Regions from separate parts of the Homo sapiens genome. Here region 2 is linked to region 1. Evidence: promoter capture Hi-C in 16 types of primary human blood cells and fetal thymus (Javierre and others, 2016). All regions are on one chromosome and are shown on one strand. Each heading gives the region's core, a stretch centred on a gene start or on the middle of the fragment in contact. The rest is flanking DNA. Distances are from core to core; before and after follow the strand shown. Region 1 holds the start of RPS27L (ribosomal protein S27 like). Region 2 overlaps RAB8B (RAB8B, member RAS oncogene family).

The links. Contacts are between HindIII fragments. The CHiCAGO score rates a contact against its expected background, and 5 or more counts as called.
Region 2: a contact is called between a fragment that was not itself captured here and the fragment with the promoter of RPS27L in region 1, in 2 of 17 cell types (total CD4 T cells and naive CD4 T cells). The highest score is 5.6, in total CD4 T cells.

Annotation. Positions count from the first base shown.
Region 1 is chr15:63,153,694-63,160,461 of GRCh38, reverse strand. RPS27L (ribosomal protein S27 like) reads left to right here and starts at 2,985. Exons shown (of 4, transcript NM_015920.4): 1 at 2,985-3,062; 2 at 3,941-4,049; 3 at 4,731-4,841; 4 at 6,402-6,768. The coding sequence starts at 3,057. The coding sequence ends at 6,430. RefSeq lists a silencer at 2,612-2,711 and enhancers at 2,893-3,466, 2,862-3,521, 3,672-3,761, 3,046-4,245. The HindIII fragment of the contact is 11,776 bases long and covers 61-6,768 here.
Region 2 is chr15:63,257,687-63,264,454 of GRCh38, reverse strand. It overlaps RAB8B (RAB8B, member RAS oncogene family), which reads right to left. Exons shown (of 8, transcript NM_016530.3): 6 at 4,763-4,828; 7 at 1,713-1,763; 8 at 1-928. The coding sequence ends at 836. Among named protein-coding and RNA genes, the nearest start is that of APH1B, 17 kb to the left of the region's middle. The HindIII fragment of the contact is 1,399 bases long and covers 2,034-3,432 here.

The DNA of each region.
Region 1 (6,768 bases), core at 1,736-4,235:
AATGTTTATTGTAGCGTTAATAATGAAAAGTTGCTGGGAGGGAGTACTGAATGTTAAGCTTTGACAGAGCTAGGTAGTGGGTACATGGATCTTCATTTATTGCATTAATTTTCTATTGTTGCTGTAATCAATTACCATAAATGTAATGGCTTAAAACAACATAAATGTATTTATTTATTTATTTATTTATTTATTTATTTATTTATTGAGACAGAGTCTCGCTCTGTTGCCCAGGCTGGAGTGCATTGGCGCCATCTCCGCTCACTGCAACCTCTGCCTCCCAGGTTCAAGCAATTCCCCTGCCTCAGCCTCCCAAGTAGCTGGTGTCTACAGGTGTGTGCCACCACGCCCGGCTAATTTTTGTATTTTTAGTAGAGACGCAGTTTCACCATGTTGGCCAGGCTGATCTCGAACTCCTGACCCCAGATGATCTGCCCACCTTGGCCTCCCAAAGTGCTGAAATTACAGGCAACAAGACAAATTTATTATCTTACAGTTCTGGACAGAAGTCTGAGCCAGGTCTTATTGGGCTAAAGTTGAGATGTTGGCAGGGCTGTGTCCCTCTTTGGGAGATCCAGGAGGGAGTCCATTTCCTTGCCTTTTCCAGCTTCTAGACGCTGCCCACATTCCTTGGCTCATGGCCCTCTTCCATCTACAAGCCATCAACATAGCACCTCTCAGACCTTCCATTACCACATCTCCTTCTCGCTCTTCTGTCTTCCTCTTCCACTTTCAAGAACCCTTGTGATTCCACTGGGCCTACACAGATAATCCAGGATACTCCTTCTAGATTAAATCAGCTAATCAGCAACCTTTATTCCACTTGCCATGTAACTAAAGGTTCTGAGGATTAGGCCACTGATGTCTTTGGGGGCCACTATTCTGTGTATACAATTGTATTATTCTATATACTTATATACATTAAATATTTAATATTCACCAATTTTTATTAATTTTTAAGTATCAAATATTTAAAAACCCAAACCTAATGCCCAATTTAGTGTATGGCTGAAGTGAAAATATATATAGTCACAGGACAAATGCTATATGCCCATTAAGAAGCATAATGTAGAATATTCCAGCCTGGGCAACATGGCGAAACCCCATCTCTACAAACATTACAAAAATTAGCCAGGCGTGGTGGCTTGTACCTGCAGTCCCAACTACTCAGGAGGCTGAGGGGGGACAATTGCTTGAGCCCAGGAGGTCGAGGCTGCAGTGAGCCAAGATTGTGCCACTGCACTCCAGCCTGGGCAACACAGTGAGACCTTATTTAAAAAAAAAAAAGAATATGTAGTGACATGGAGTGATGCTCATTTTATAGTAAGTGGGAGGAAAATTCAAGTCTACAAAAGATTATGCACAAGATGATCCCAATTAGGTTAAGTCAAAACCCAAAATAAACCTATATCCAAGAGAGTAAAAAATATTGGGAAGGATATAGGTCAAAAGTTAAAAATGTTTATTTACAGATGGTAAATTTTCTTCTATTTTTCTGCATTTCCCAAAATGTATATTATACATGTATCCTTTTTGCAAAGACAAATAAGGTGATTAAGAACATCAAGTCAGGGCGGGACGCGGTGGCTCACGCCTGTAATCCCAACACTTTGGGAGGCCAAGGCGGGCAGATCACTTGAGGTCAGGAGTTCGAGACCAGCTTGGCCAACATAGTGAACCCCCCCCCCACCATCCCCCGTCTCTACTAAAAACACAAAAAGTAGCCGGACATGGTGATGGACACCTGTAATCTCAGGTACTTGGGAGGATTGAGGCAGGAGAATCGCGTGAACCCAGGAGGCGGAGGTTGCAGTGAGCCAAGATCGCGCCACTGTACTCCAGCCTGGGTGACAGAGCAAGACTCTGCCAAAAAAAAAAAAAAAAAAAAAAAAAATCCAGTTAGACCAATTTTCTGGTAAAGTGTCTTTCTGGTTTCTTGCCTTTTGGTCGCCCATGACACCCATTTTTCAAGCATAGAGTTTCCTCCTCAAAAATAGAGCATGCTGTCACGCGCCGGTAGTCCCAACTACTTGGGAGGCTGAGGTGGAAGGACTTCTTGAGCCTAGGAATTGGAGACAAGCCTGGGCAATATAGCAGGACCCTGTCTCCAAGGAAAAAAAAAAAAAAAAAAAGAATAATGGCGTGTTCCTGTGGTCCCAGCTACTCGGGAGGCTGAGGCGGGAGAATCGCTTGAGCCCAGGAGGTCGAGGCTGCAGTGAGCTGTGATGGCACCATTGCATTCCAGCCTGGGCAAAAAAGCGAGACCTTGTCTCAAATAATAATAATGATAAAGACTCATGTTCGGTCATCGGTGACATTCGCCTTTCTCAGGCCCCCTAGTTGTCCACTCTGCAAAGGACGAGTAATCCTCGGAAGGGGTGGGGCCTCTTAGTGAATGAGGCACAGCAGCGAATCCGTGCTGTTTTAAAAACTTTTTTTCAGAACAAAGCAAACCTAAGGCACAGCCATACCCCGCAGAAAACTTCGAAATCTGCGCCTTGAAAAGGGAAGCCAAAAGGATACGAGCCTCTTTCATAATCTCTCTGGCACGTATTAATGGTTAATAATACTGTATTTTTTAATACACAAAAGAAGAGAATAGTGGCATTGCCCCGTGTGCCCACCCCCAGAGCTAACCGAGAGCGGCCGGGCCAGGGGGCCGGGGGCTGAGCGGCCCGCCGGGTTCCGGGGTGGCGCCGGCCCCGGTGGCCGCGGGCGCTCCCTCGCCATGGCCTAAGCCCGAGGCCGCTCCCCAGCCAGATTCTGGCCTCAGGCACTGCAGAGCCCGCGGCGCTCGCCAACAAGCCCGTTAGACCCACGGGACTTGGCACCCTGGAACGCTCACCATCCCCGGGTCTTCCCTGCGCCCTGGACCCGAGTACCCTGCTGCGGCGTCCCCCTACCACCGAGAGGAGGGCCTAGAGCAGACAAGCCCGCCCCGCCGCTCCTCCCAGCAGCTTCTATCCCGGAAGTTGATGCCGAGCGCAGATCGCTTGCAGCTTGCTAGCTGTGTGGGCTGGGAGGTCTGGTAGGGCTGAGCTTGCAAGAGGATCAACATGCCTGTGAGTTGTTTACATCGGGCTCCGGGTTTGTTTTGGGCTTCTTTACCGAGAGTCATATGGGACGGATGAGTCCGGCTGCCTCTCGGGCCTGTAGTGTCCGAGAGTGGCGAGGCGGCTCAGGTTGCGCAGCGTCTTCGCGCGTGGCGGGCATGTAGTGACTTGCCCGGTCACCGCGGCGCGGCTGGCCCTGCAGGGGCGTGGGCTGCAATTCAGAGGCGGTGGCTGGGAGGGGAACAGTTCTCTGTGTAGCTTATGAGCGGTCTTGGTCTTTGAGGATGCCCCTGAGGTTGTGATCTTTGGGTCTTTTGGCTTTCCCAGTGATTGGTGTTTCTCGCCCCCTCTGCCTTCTTTCGGAAGCGATTTCCTACTTGTTTTCCTTTTTTAAAAACTGTCCTCGTTGTTGCCTTATATATTAATTCCGTCAAGGACGGTCGCTCAGCAAGAATTCCTGTCAGATCAGCTGTTGAGCCACAGGAGCAAAAATCACCCAGGCGCTGACGTTGTCTGGTCTACTTCAGCAGTTTCTACTCTAAGCGAGTCCACAGTCGGGGTCACTTTCTTTGCTTAGCACCTCGACTTCGCGCAGTTTTCATCGAAGACAGTTCATTACGCAGTTGAGTAAAGAAGGACAAAGTTTGCCTTACCATATGTTTCCTGATCGTGCGAAAGCCCTTTTCTAGGGACTTGGAGAACACAAGTATTATGAAAAGTACTGATGAAAGTTATTAACAGGTTTCGAAAAATAACTTTACTATCTGACGTGTTGCTTCTGCCGAGGATGACCGTTATTCCTGTTTTTGCATGTATATTTCACGTATGGTTAAATGTGCCAGCGTTGTGGTTTAAAACTAATAGTAATAATATGCTTCTTTGTTCAGTTGGCTAGAGATTTACTACATCCGTCCTTGGAAGAGGAAAAGAAAAAACATAAAAAGAAACGCCTAGTACAAAGTCCAAATTCTTACTTTATGGATGTAAAATGTCCAGGTAAAATTTGAAATCTTAATTCCTTTACTAAAGAAAATTTCTGTAGGGATTGCTAGTGTGGTGTGTATAGTTAAGATACATTAGAACCCTCTGTTGAGTAGAAGTGGGATTACAGAATTGGAAATGTCAGGGACATTTTCATAATAAATGTACTGAAACCATTGTAGAAACATTTCGGGGTAAGTGAAAACAGGCATTCAAAGGAGATATGCCATTTGACTTAGCAAGTCTTTAAGCTCTTCAGACGATGAGTTTTCTGTTTCATGATACAAAGAAAAGTCTGTTGATTCTTCAGTCTAAAGCTGTGCTGCCCAATACAATGGCCATTAGCTGAATGTGGCTACTGAGCACTTGTGGATAATCAAAATGTGGATACTCAAAATAGAGATGTTCTTTAATTGTAAAATACTCACTGGATTTTGACGATGTAGCACAGAAAAAAAATACATTGATTACATGTTGAAATGATATTTTGGAAATATTAAGTTTAATGAAATATATTATTGATTTTACCTGTTTTTAAAAAATTTTGTGTCGCTGCTAGAAAAGTTTATGTTACACATGTGGCTTGCTGTTTCATAGCACTGAAGTTACTGATTTTTTTACATATTACCAGAAATGTCGAACAGGTGCTGTTTTCCTCTGCTTTTCATTTTTAACATTGCCTTTTTTTTTTTTTAGGTTGCTACAAGATCACCACGGTTTTCAGCCATGCTCAGACAGTGGTTCTTTGTGTAGGTTGTTCAACAGTGTTGTGCCAGCCTACAGGAGGAAAGGCCAGACTCACAGAAGGTATATCATTTGGCATTCTCCAACCCAGTGATGAGATTGATGATTATAAATGTCTCTATCTTCACTGAAAAGTTTAAAGAAATCTTAATGATTACCAAAATAACTTATCTTTCATTGTGTGCTTTCAGTAAAGAATGGCCTGTTCAAATGGATATATTTATACTCTTGACCTTGCAGTGAACTCCATTGACTTATTTTTCTTAGTTTAGAACACATTTATTCACTTAGTTTGCTTAACTTGGAATAAATTAAGTCAGAATAGAAGCAAAAGAATAACTACATGTTATAGGACATGCAGATTTATTTATTTATTTATTTATTATTTTTTTTTTTTATTAGGAGTCTCGCTCTGTCACCCAGGCTGGAGTGCAGTGGCGCCATCTCAGCTCACTGCAACTTCTGCCTCCCCGGTTCAAGTGATTCTCTTGCCTCTGCCTCCCAAGTAGCTGGGACCACAGGCGCGTGCCACCATGCCTGGCTAATTTTTTGTATTTTTAGTAGAGGTGGGGTTTCACTGTGTTAGCCAGGATGGTCTTGATCTCCTGACCTCATGGTCTGCCCGCCTCGGCCTCCCAAAGTGCTGGGATTACAGGCATGAGCCACCTCGCCGGCCAGGACATACAGATTTTTAAAACCATATAGAATTTTAAAATTTCTTTTACAAAATTTTGTTCCATATATATTTAGTACATATAATAGTTTTTTTTTTATCATTGCCAGCTAAGCAACAGATAGCTAATATATAAGTTAAAATGCCAGAGATTTTACTTTTATGAGCAACTGCAATGATTAATATAAAAACCTAATTTTAATTCCTCTTTCACTTTAGTGCAATAAGAAAAAAAAATTATATATATAGTTTCCATAGTAATACTTGTAAATTTGTGATTCCATAATGATGTTATAAATTTGCTTGTGATATTTTGGGGAGCTGTAAGTTCCATGCTCTCACTGGAAGAGTTCAAGTGGATTGGCAGCAAATCTGAGATCTATTTGGTGTGACCTGGTGAGATCTAAATATGGAGTCAGCACATGATTTTTTTAAGAGTAATATTGCTAAGTAATATTGCTAAGTATACTTGGGAGATTTTTGAAACAAAGTATGTCATGTCATGATTTTGGAATTTAGTGCCCATATGCTGACAGATGGTTTAATGGGTCTATCTGTTCTAGAGTTTTCCTAATAGGTCTGAAAATACCTCTAATCAAAATTATTTACTTGAGAAAAGTATTCAGAATAGTTCCTAAAAATTAAGAGTATATCTTCTGACAGCTTGCTTGAAACAGTCTTCACTGTTGAATTCAGGCTCATGGTCTTAAGTAGACTTCATTATAGCATTTGAGAAACAGGAGTGACACTTATAGTCATACCAGAGTAAACTCAGATATGATAGATGTATTATAGCAAATTTCTGGTATAAAAGGATAAATAATCTGTATATGAGTATTAATCCAATATTCTTAAAACTTCAGTATTTTACTTAAAAGTACTTTTTGTCATTAAAATTATAGCAAAGGTAGAATGCACTTGTTTAATATACTCTCATGATTCTTTTGCAGGGTGTTCATTTAGAAGAAAGCAACACTAATGATTCAAACAGCTTCCTGAATTTTAATTTTGTGTTGTCTCACAGAAAGCCTTATCATAAATTCCATAATTCTAATTAATTTACCAAGATAATGTAATTACATTTGGTTTTGTAAGGTATACAGCAGTAATCTCCTATTTTGGTGTCAGTTTTTCAATAAAGTTTTGATTATGGGCAAATCCCCTCTTTTTCTTTTTTTAAAATATATTTGAGTATGCCATACATTTATATATATGGTGTATATGAATTTGGTTTAAACATTTTAAAATTTATTCTGATTAGTTTGTGTCTTTTTTTTTTTTTTTGAGAGAGAGAGTCCTGCTCTGTCACTCAAGCTG
Region 2 (6,768 bases), core at 1,484-3,983, 100 kb before region 1:
CGTAAAATTTCAGCTCAAGAAGTTCACAAATAGAAACAGATAATAATGTTCAAATATTACTTAAGAGTGATTACACTTAAGTCAAACATGGGAAAGAATAGCAAATACAAACCCCAGGGAAAAATGAGATTATGGTGATTTCCAAATGCAGTTTCTATAGATTAGGCAGAGGTAATCATTTTAAAGTGATTCATTCAGCTACCCAGACTCTGGAAAACAGGTCGGGGATGAGGCAAAGCTCTTAATCTGAAGAAATAAAGAAATTGTGGCCTTTGATGACAAGATGGGCATTTCAGTAAATTTTTTTAATGACTTTAATGATTCTTATTTAAGAAAAAGCCCTTAAATAAATGCTACCAAGGCAGTAATATTTGACCATATGAACCAGACCAAATACCCTTTAATTTTAGTATATTAACCTCTGCTGTAAATGCTCTTTTAACATTGCCACATGTACAAATTTGTCTAGAACTTCACGACACAAAAGTGTGCAAATATGAGTCTAAGATTGTGCTGAAATAGGGAAAGGCTAACACTGATGTGCAAAGTAAAAAAGAAAGATAACCGCTTCTGCAACAGGTAATAAAACAAGGAAAAAACGAGTTAGGTCCTGCATGTGTCTCCACTTCATTGCTTCCATGTTTGAAAAAGGGAGTCTGTTCTTTTGCTAGGCCATGAGGCTGGAATCCACTTGGCATACTGTGTTGAGAGGTCTAAGTTCAGTGGTGCTCTCAGCAGCAGCCGGGAGGTGTGATTCTGAGGCTGGGTGACCTGTGCTTTCAGAGAAGCAGGAAAGGGCCCTCTAGGTGTGCTGCAGTCTCTCAGAAAGAGTTCATCAAAGTAGCGAGCAACGAAAGAAACTGGTCTTCTTTGATCGGTTTTCTGTTATTTTCACTGGTCCACCTGCTCCTGCTGAATTGCTGTCATTCTAAAAAATAGAAGATGAAGTTACCAAGGAAATAAAAGTTTCATGGTTTGACCTCAGTTACCTAAAAAATAAAAATAACTAACCATACCATGTGAAATGTGTATTCTAGTGAAATGTGTATTCACTAGAGTATTTTATTAGAACGGGAACTAGTTAAGCACCAATGTTGTCTTTTTCTTTGGAAATGGTGAATTGAAAAGAGGAAAATGCCCTTACGATAGCAGCTTTTATATCAATAATGTATTCAATAGGAAGCTTCTATTTCTAGTTCCAATGGAGTGTAAAGTTTCAAAGGTAATGATGGAAACAATGTTAAGATACTGGCATAGACAGTTCTGTTAGAGGTAAGAAGAGTTAGTAGCATAAGGTACGCAATTATAGTCAGGACTCAGGATAAAACAAACTTTCAAGGTTGTCTTAATGATTTCAAATTTAAGCAAACTTTAGCAACTTCAAAATCGTAGTTATGCAGATATAAATACCTGTCACATGAAAACTGAATAATTTTATGGCAAAAATCGAATTTGTGCCATTATTATTTTCATTATTCTCATCAAAATTCAATTAAAGATCACTTAAAGAGCCAGAAGAAAGGACTGAAACAGTGGCAGCTCAGAAATAAGAATCCTAAACAAACAGAACTAAGAATCAGAGTTCAACCAAATGAGTATCTGAGTCAGGAAAAAAATGAGTTTAATTTGAGTATCTTATAATTAGACCTATCCTTTTCATCAAATGCCAAACAGACAGCATAATGGAAATAAAAATTATAAGTGATACAAACCATTTTTCTGTTGAGTTTTGTCATTATATCTCGTGCAAGTGTAAAAAATGCCTATAGGTAAAACAAAACATTTTCATTATTATATATTCACTATATATATGTATATATATATATATACACATATATATATTCCCCCCGCCTCAGAGATGGGGTCTTGCTATGTTGCCCTGGCTGAATTGGAACTCCTGGGCTCAGGCAATCCTCCCACCTCAGTCTCCTAAGTAGCTGGGACTACAGGTGTGAGCCACCATGCCTGACTTATTTTAAAACAGAAATACAGAATTTTTCATTATTTCAATATAAATATACCACTTTAAAGCTTTACATTAAGAAAGTAATAATTGTAATCATAGTATGCATGTGTTTACTCTTTTGAGATTGTATCATAAACATTTTCCAATGTTATCAAACTATCATTCATTCATCAAATATTTTCTTCATGTGATATAATATCACAATAACACCCTTGTTGAGTCACGAGTAACTTCTTCAGTACACCAAGAACAGGACAGAAGCTCTGTCTAAGCTACCCCACTTCCCTAGAGCAGGGCACAGTGCTGATCTAGGAAATGCTGACTATCTGGTTTAATGAGTGAATAAATAATTATGTATTACCCTATAGCTCTAAAATGTCTTCACAAAAATCTCTACTTTTTATTTCTGGCTTTTTCTTTCAAATTGCTCTCACTCTTATAGCTGAATATGTATAATCTTCCATGTCTTACTCCAAAATCCCAACAGTTCCTGGAGCTCTCGGCTAAATTCCCCACCATGGAAGTCAGTTCGAATAGAAGCAGGGCAAATCTGATTAATCTTCGTGATAATTTATCCATAATGTCTCTTGATACAAACCAAATATTTTTTAAATCCATCATCACTTTTTCTATGAAGCCAGGAACTGTTAAAGATTCTTCATTTGTCACCATGCTAAACCTATTGTTAAATCAACCTCTTTGTTCCCAACACTCCTGATCCCCAAAAACTGTTCAGGAAAAGGATTATTTCCAATCCAATCAAATAAAAACAATACGACAACTACTATTATTACTCATTGTCAGTGTCTCACTGTCAAACTTGTCACCTATGAGCCTAACCACACTGATTTAAAGCTCTGGCAAAGTTGTTACCATCTGTATGCCTTGCTAGAATAAGCAGCTCAGGCAACTCCCAGTTCAGGGAGTTCTATCCATACTGTTGCAAATTATGGGATTTCACTCTTTTTTTATGGCTGAATAGTATTCCATTGTGTATACATACCACATTTTCTTTATCCATTCATCCACTGATGGACACTTAGGTGGATACACTGATTCCCTTTCTTTTGGGTAAATACTCAGTAGTGAGACTGCTGGATCATATGGTAGTTCTATTTTTAGTTTTTTTATTGTTCTCCATAGTGGCTGTACTAATTTACATTCCTACCCACAGTATATGAGGGTTCCCCTTTCTCTACATCCTTTCCAGCATTTGTTATTGCCTATCTCTTTGATAAAAGCCATTTTAATTGGGGTGAGATGATAGCTCACTGTACTTTTGATATGCATTGCCCTGATCACTACTGATGTCGGGAATTTTTTCATATACCTGTTGGCCATTTATTTGTCTTCTTTTGAGAAATGTCTATTCAGATCTTTTGTCCATTTTTAACTTGGATTATTTCTGATGGCGGGAAATCCTTTTGTATCAAGCAGAGGGAAGCATTTTTCTGCTTATCTAAGCTTGTGTAAGTAAATCAGTAGAGGCTTCCTGTTTCCTAACACCCATCGGCCAACCTAAACAAATAACTGTTACGTTATTTAAAACAAAGAAAAAGTTCTGATCAGTGTCCACTGGCTAATAAAGTCATGTAGGTCTCGATTTTTAACCATCATGTTATGATGAACAATGAGTAACCTAGGAAATTAAATGTTTATGAAACTATCAGTATTATTAAAAGAATTACATGTATTAACACATATCACATGTAAATTACACGTATTATTTTTATGATCAGTTGAAAAAATGTTTTTTAAAAAAAATAACAGTTCCCTTGGTGAAGAAAACCTATTATTTTTTTTTTTTACACTTTAAGTTCTGGGATACATGTATAGAACATGCAGGTTTGTTACCTAGGTATACACGTGCCATGGTGGTTTTCTGCAACCATCAACCAGTCATCTACGTTAGGTATTGAAGAAAACCTATTCTCATAAGACTTTAGATGGTTTGGTTTTCCTTAACAGCTAACTTAATGAAAATTTATTAAAGCTACTCCCTGATAAACACTTTCCTATTTCCACTAAATGCCACTGTTACAATTTATTGTGCTTAATCTACCTCAAATGTGTACGCTAAAGGAATGTGTCCAATAAACTAACAGCTTAATTCTCCCTTGAGAGAGTACAGCCTTAAAAGTGATTTAACTCTTCTGCTGCAGGCATACAGGGTGACATGAATGAGCACAGGATACTGGTTGGTCTTCTAGTCCAGGATTTCCAGCTGCCCAAAAAAAGGGCAAAACTGAACTTCCATAATCTATTCTGTGAATCTTAACTGAGCAAGCTAATATAATCCAGGTGGAGGCTAGATGCTAGAAATTCAACAACCAGCGTCTACATAAAAATCAGAAGCAGCTGGGTATGGTGGCTCACGCCTGTAATTCCAGCACTTTGGGAGGCCAAGGAGAGGGGATCACGAGGTCAAGAGATCGAGACCCTCCTGGCCAACATGGTGAAACCCCGTTTCTACTAAAAATACAAAAATTAGCTGGGCGTGGTGATGCACACCTATAGTACCAGCTACTCGGGAGGCTGAGGCAGGAGAATCGCTTGAACCTGGGAGGCAGAGGTTGCAGTGAGCCGAGATCATGCCACTGCATTCCAGCCTGGCGACAGAGTGAGACTCCATCTCAAAAAAAAAAAAATCAGAAGCACAAAAGTGTACAAAGTAGAGTTGGGTCAACAAAAGGCATTCATTAGGTCAGAAAATACCAAAGCTCTGAGAGCTGTTTGAACACAGGCCCCTAAGCACTGGTGCTGCTCCGTAACAGTCACCAAACGTTTCCTTCTTACCTCTTCTACATTTGCACTGGATTTTGCGCTTGTCTCCAAGAATTTAATCCCATAGTCAATTGCTAGCTGAAAAGTAAACAGAAATATTTAAATTTAGCAAAAGATACTTGAACACATAATGCATTTGTATTTCTTAGGTTTTTCAAAGTCTCAAAGGTAGGGTATCTATTTCAGAACTCCTGTGGTTCTCAAATTTCTTTGCTTTCTTCTACTGTATTCAGAATTTAATAATTTAACTTAATCATCGTAAGAAGGATGGCACAACTTCCATTTCAAACATAATTTAAGGCCGGGCATGGTGGCTCACGCACTTTGGGAGGCCGAGGCAGACGGATCACGAGGTCAGGAGATCGAGACCCTCCTTGCTAACATGATGAAACCCCGCCTCTACTAAAAATACAAAAAATTAGCCGGGCGTGGTGGCACCCGCCTGTAGTCCCAGCTACCCGGGAGGCTGAGGCAGGAGAATTGCTTGAACCCAGGAGGCAGAGGTTGGAGTAAGCCGAGATCGCACCACTGCACTCCAGTCCAGGTGACAGAGCGAGACTCTGTCTCAAAATAAATAAATAAATAAAATAATAATAATAATTTAAGTACTTCTCTTTTTTTCTGTTTTTGTACTTTTAGTTCTCTAATATGGGATAAATACCCACCCTCCTAAGGTAGCAGAATAGGGTCTGGAGGCAGGGAACCTAAGGCCAATTCACATTGACTTCCTAGAACTAAATCAAAAGAAAAACCCCAGCCTTCCATGCCCAAGTAACAAAAGTACAGGGGTTACTCCCTTTGCAACCTCCTCCCCTTTTCTGACTCACAGATTAAAAATGGAAAGTACCTCTGATTGGTCCCCTCCCACAACCAATCAGACGTCTGCGCAGGGTATAACTTTGTAACTTCATTTCATCCTTTGATTGGTCACCTTCTGCAACCAATCAAACTGGTCATGGGCCACTACTTCATTTACAGAGTGTAAACCAAGTAACCCATGGGAAATTTCTAGAGGGTATTTAAACCCCAGAAAATTCTGTAACCAGTGCTCAAGCTGCTTGCTCAAGCCCACTCCCACTCTGTGGAGTGTACTTTCATTTCGATAAATTTGTGGTTTTGGCTTCATTCTTTCATTGTTTGTGTGTGTGCATTTTGTCCAATTCTTTGCTCAAAATGCCAAGAATCTGGCTGACTTGTAGTCAAGACCCTCCACTGGTAAAACTACCATTATCTTGGGATTCATTCACTCCTTTTATCTGCTCCCAAAGTTTAATTCTCCAACAGTTACTGTATTGACTTTTAGGCCGGGTGTGGTGGCTCACGCCTGTAATCCCAGCACTTTGGGAGGTCGAGGCAGGCAGATCACCTGAGGTCAGGAGTTAAGAGACCAGCCTGGCCAGCATGGTGAAACCCCGTCTGTACTAAAAATACAAAAATTAGCCTGGTGTGGTGGCAGACGTCTATAATCCCAGCTACTTGGGAGGCTGAGACAGGAGAATCGCTTGAACCAGGGAGCCAGAGGTTGTAGTGAGCCAAAATTGTGCAATTGCACTCCAGCCTGGGTGACAAGAGTGAAACTCCATCTCAAATAAAAAAAAAAAAAACTATACTTACTTTTAATTACTTTTTTTTTTTTTTTGAGACACAGTCTTGCTCTGTTGCCCAGGCTGGAGGAGTACAGTGGCACTATCTCAGCTCACTGCAACCTCCGCCTCCTGGGTTCAAGTGATTCTCCTGCCTCAGCCTCCTGAGTAGCTGGGACTACAGACGCACGCACGCCACCATGCCCGGCTAATTTTTGTATTTTTAGTAGAGACAGTGTTTCACCATGTTGGTCAGGCTGGTCTCGAACTCCTGACCTCGTGATCCACCCACCTCGGCCTCCCAAAGTGCTGGGATGACAGGTATGAGCCACTGCGCCAGGCCTTAATTAATTTTAATAAATGAGTCCAGAATTGAACAAAAACTTAAATACTAAAGTATTCATGCTTTGATTTCTATTGATTGAGACAAATTGC